2 separate regions of the Homo sapiens genome follow, and region 2 is linked to region 1. Evidence: promoter capture Hi-C in 16 types of primary human blood cells and fetal thymus (Javierre and others, 2016). All regions are on one chromosome and are shown on one strand. Each heading gives the region's core, a stretch centred on a gene start or on the middle of the fragment in contact. The rest is flanking DNA. Distances are from core to core; before and after follow the strand shown.

Region 1 (2,647 bases), core at 148-2,647:
ACTGGCTACTCTAGATTATAGGATTTTACTCATATGTTAGGATACCCATTTCGTACTCACCCTAAAGCTGTATTCATGCTCCTTCTCTTTGTCTTACTATGTTCCTGACCTGAGCAGCATTTTCTTTCTGACTCTTAGTCACTCAAATTAACCTGCATTTCCAATCATTTATTTAAAGAAGTCCAATAAATCCAAAGATCATGGCCTATATTGCTCTACCCATTTACTTCTGCAGGGGACCAAAGATGGCACTTTGATTTCACGGTACTGAATGTGTGATGTTCTGAAAGGAATAATAGGGTAGAGGCCCCTAGGACTATTTTCCTGATGGTTGGACCAAGATTACTTCTATTATTCAAACTTAAAAATTGAGAAACTTGAAATTGGCCTACTGCAGCCCTAGTTTTCTTGGGCACTCCCTGAGGTGTAGGAACCAAACAGCTCAGCTTTTAAGAAAATATCTGAGAATGGAAAGGGTGGAGGTCATAATTAGACAGGGACGGTGGTCAAGAACATTGAGTTTTGAGTTATTGGCCTAGGTTCAAATCCTGGTATCATTTATAAACTATATGACCGTATACAAGTATTTAACTTCTCAGTGTATCAGATTATTCATATGTAAAATGGAAAACAAGCTTTCTGACAGCACCTATGTGGCTGTTGTAAGGATTAAATGAGATAATGCCTTTTAAACCTAGAATGCAGTAATCCCTGTTTGTGCTAGCCATTACAGTTGTTCCGTTCCAATGTAATTCTTCTACCTCTGTCTGAATCTGTAGGGAATTTATGCAGGACTCCATATTTGTCGAGAGGTCATGCCAGTGTGTTTAAATTCCAACCATGGGGCTCAATCCTGCGGTTGTGCCGTAGCACCTCCAAGTCATCAAGCTTGGTTTTGGTCCAATATCGTGAACTTCAGGTAGACACAAGACATCTCTCTGTAGTTATTCTAGAGAAAATGCAGTTTATAATTTACCAGGCAGTAGTAAACATTCTAGAATCAGTACTAAGTTTCTCTTTATGGAAGTAAACATGCCATCTTGATACACTTATTATTCGAAGAAGCAAAAGTAGATACGTTCTTACAGAAGGCAAAAAAAAAAAAATTTTGCTAAGTGAAGTAAAAAATGTACTACTCTCTGCTTCTTCCCACAGTATCCATAAATATGCTGAGGCCGTTTATTTTGCCAGATGGGTTTTGAGACCCTGCTGAAACAAGAGATGCTCTCATTTATATTTCCCTCAAATTCTACCACAAACCACACTCGGGAGGGAAAAGAAAAAGTCGCCACGTAAGCATGTTTACCTTCAAGTGACTGGGAAGTGGAAACCTATCCATAAGTGATGACTCACCATTGCAGGCCTATAAAAGTAAAGGTAATCTCTGCGGAAAGACAACAGTCCCCAGGCATCACCATTCAAGATGCATCCAGGGGTCCTGGCTGCCTTCCTCTTCTTGAGCTGGACTCATTGTCGGGCCCTGCCCCTTCCCAGTGGTGGTGATGAAGATGATTTGTCTGAGGAAGACCTCCAGTTTGCAGAGGTAGAGTATCTTGCCAATCCTGATGATGCGGTTGGTACATCTCAGAAATGTCCTTCTCTTTTAAACGCAGTTCATTTTGGTGTCTTTTCTAGCGCTACCTGAGATCATACTACCATCCTACAAATCTCGCGGGAATCCTGAAGGAGAATGCAGCAAGCTCCATGACTGAGAGGCTCCGAGAAATGCAGTCTTTCTTCGGCTTAGAGGTGACTGGCAAACTTGACGATAACACCTTAGATGTCATGAAAAAGCCAAGATGCGGGGTTCCTGATGTGGGTGAATACAATGTTTTCCCTCGAACTCTTAAATGGTCCAAAATGAATTTAACCTACAGGTAAATCATAGGCTATCTTTCTTTCATATTTGTTAGCCTTTTCTTGTAGTATTAAATGTCTAATATTAAGTAGGCCTTATTATTTAATTGGCAGTTAAATTCCAGAATAGCTTTAATATGGTTGCCGAGAATACCTCATAACATCTATTATTGTTACATTAACTCAGCATTATTTTTTAGTGGGCATCTCAAAGTATTTCTTTTAGAGATGAAATCAAAAGAGAAATAAAAGTAGGTTAAAGAAAATTTGCAAACATAGTACATTAGGTGTATTTATTACAACAGTGCTCAAGATGAAGAGTTCCACTCTTTCTAGAAACTTTACAGAGCTATTTCATTTATTTGAGCTTTATCAATGTAATCTAAACTTTTAGCATGCAAAATAAATTATATTAAACATTGGAATATTTTAAATTTAAGATGCCACATGGTCAGATATTTGGAGATACTCAAATGTGGCTGAATTTTTGACTTTTTATTCTTGTATGGCATCATAATTAATACATTATTTGAAACAATAAACCTCTAGTAGAACTTTCAAAGAAATTATTGCATTTTGAATTGAAAAGCAATATACCAAGAAAATGTATTCTAAAATAGCTGTCACTTTCCAAAAAGTTCATTGAAACTTTCTCTGTTAAATAGAATTGTGAATTACACCCCTGATATGACTCATTCTGAAGTCGAAAAGGCATTCAAAAAAGCCTTCAAAGTTTGGTCCGATGTAACTCCTCTGAATTTTACCAGACTTCACGATGGCATTGCTGACA
Region 2 (2,647 bases), core at 40-2,539, 720 kb after region 1:
GTTATGGGCTACCCCCTCAACTTCTAGTCATCTCACAGCCATAGTGTGGGATTTAAACCTAGGTTTGAGGCACACAATTAGGAATTGTAATAATTATGTCTTATTTGATCTTGGTATGACCAAACAAGGAGATCATATGTGGGAGCATCTCAGTAATTACAGAATATTAAAATACTGAAAAACAAATAGCATACTTATAAAATTGAAGATGGTGTGCATCTTAATGACAGAACAAGACAGAGCCTCATGTACTTATGCAGATGCCCTGGGTAGACCTACTCAAGTTTGAAGGACTATTTTGAATTATTCAATAATACTATGTCTTTAAACAAGATGATATTGAGAAAAGGTCATAGTGATTTTAAAATACAGTATCACTTTTAAGGAATGTTAACGGTTTACCAGTTGCTTTTATAACACTTTGATCTTCTTTATCAGTGTCTTGAGATAGTGCAAATTGTAGTACGTTCACTTTACCCCTGATGGAGAAAAAGTCTGAGAGACTCCAAATCCCACAGTAAGTGATGGCAGTGGGACACCAACTTAATTGGAATAATCTGCCTTTCAAATTTGTCATAGTGACCAGGATAGAACAACAAAACTATGAGAACACTGGAGATGTTCAGGTATTGAGAATTTTTCTTCAGTGATTTTGGAAGACTGATAGGGATTTAGTCAAAGTTTTAGCTCAAATCAGTGGAAAATTTCCTCAGCAACATCCTGAATTTGGGGTAGGGTTTGCCACTGCATTCCAGATAAAGATGTGGCCTCGAAGGTGAGCTGTGAGTTGGCTGTTAAGCACCCGTCACCCCCATCCCCGCCCGCTGCCCCTCAATGAAGCATCAGCTGTTTTCTGAATGACACTAAATGGGCTTAGGCTGGTTTTCTGAAACTCCCATAGCAGAATTCCACAGAAATTCCTTTGGCCTAGAATACAGAAAAGCTATGCTGTCTTTCAATGATTTGGACTGTAAAAGAACAACTAAATCTCAAGTCCACATTCTTCACTGGGCAGTCCCATTTGGGATTATTTTACAGGGCTCAACAGACTTACTAGTGCTCAGAGACAAAACACCTCAGCAAATGGCCTCCTTTTGGAAGATGATGCACATGTGGTTTTTGTGGTGTGACTTCAAATTACCTAACAGTCTGGCTGTCCCTGAATATGAGCCATTGTATCTCTTATAAAATCTAAGGTCTTAATTCACGGTCATCCAAGTGATCAGTCTTATCTAGTTGTGATCCTAGTATCATTTAGAATCCACTGGGCTACAGCCCATGAGGCAGATGCCTCTGCTGAACTCTGCCTGCAGATGTGTTTACCTCCTCTTCCTTTTTTTTTTTTCCCCCTGAGACAGAGTCTCGCTCTGTTGCCCAGGCTGGAATGCAGTGGCGCGATCTCAGCTCACTGCAACCTCCGCCTCCTGGGTTCAAGCAATTCTCCGTGCCTCAGCCTCCCCAGTTGCTGGAATTACAGCTGCCTGCCACCGCAGCCAACGAATTTTTGTATTTTTAGTAGATACGGGGTCTCACCATGTTGTCCAGGCTGGTCCTGAACTCCTGACCTCAGGTAACCTGCCTGCCTTGGCCTCCCAAATTGCTGGGATTACAGGCGTGAGCCACCGTGCCAGGCTTTACCTCTTATTCAGTAGAAAAAAGTGCCAAATACAAGTTGCTGAGAGGTTCCCTGAAGGAGGAGGAAGTGTCTTTAGCTAGGTTTCCCAATGGCTGCATCACTAGTGAAGCTCAGCTTTGAGTAGCTGGCTTCAGTAGCTCTTGGTGATAGCACTGATAGACAGGAGATTTTCTCTCAGATCCTGCCATTTAATCCAGATCCTTGAGAAAATTAGTTCAAGTTTGCCAGATATGCTATCATTTTAATTGTGTAAATCCACTGTAACATAAAAACCCGATTTGAAACAGAACAAATGCTTTAAAAGGAACTGAGATGTGGGGCACGGCGTGGTGGCTCAGGCCTGTAATCCCAGCACTTTGGAAGGTGGAGGTGGGCAGATTGATTACTTGAGCTCAGGAGTTTGAGACCAGCCTGGACAACATGGTGAAACCCCACGTCTCTACAAAAAATACAAAAATTAGCTGGGTGGGTGGCGCAAGCTGCTTGGGAGGCTGAGGCACGAGAACTGCTTGAGCCCAGGAAGTGGAGGTTGCTGTGAGCTGACATTGCGGCACTGCACTCCAGCCTGGGTGACAGAGCGAGACCCCGTCTCAAAAAAAGAAAAAAAAAAAAAAAAAGAACTGAGATGTGGCTTCTAATAATATCCCAAGTAAAATTACAACCAAATGTGAAGTTTAACTCATATTTTATATAGATTCTATGAAGGTCGTGGGAACTATAATTCCACAAAAATATACCTGGGACAAGATGTAAGGAAACGTGGGGAAAGGTATGTCACAACCCTAAGAAGTTTTTACAAGTTCCTTTTACAAAAAAATCAAGCCCTGTCCACTAACTGAGTGCAAACCAATACCAATTTCACAAAGTTACAGTACCTCTAGTTCTTGTTTCTTTAACAGTTAAAGTTTGTTTTTAAGTTAACTAGACTAGGTGTTCAAAAATTTTACAGAAGTAGACCCTTTGCTAAGAGGTCTCCAAATAATTGCTTTCAGTGGCAAAGATACTAGGTTT

The links. Contacts are between HindIII fragments. The CHiCAGO score rates a contact against its expected background, and 5 or more counts as called.
Region 2: a fragment that was not itself captured here is called in contact with the fragment with the promoter of MMP13 in region 1 in 1 of 17 cell types (M0 macrophages); the score reaches 5.2 in M0 macrophages.

Annotation. Positions count from the first base shown.
Region 1 is chr11:102,954,482-102,957,128 of GRCh38, reverse strand. It overlaps MMP13 (matrix metallopeptidase 13), which reads left to right and starts at 1,397. Exons shown (of 10, transcript NM_002427.4): 1 at 1,397-1,543; 2 at 1,636-1,877; 3 at 2,523-2,647. The coding sequence starts at 1,424. RefSeq lists an enhancer at 765-1,964. The HindIII fragment of the contact is 7,221 bases long and covers 891-2,647 here.
Region 2 is chr11:102,235,713-102,238,359 of GRCh38, reverse strand. No RefSeq gene overlaps it. Among named protein-coding and RNA genes, the nearest start is that of BIRC3, 80 kb to the left of the region's middle. The HindIII fragment of the contact is 3,342 bases long and covers 1-2,647 here.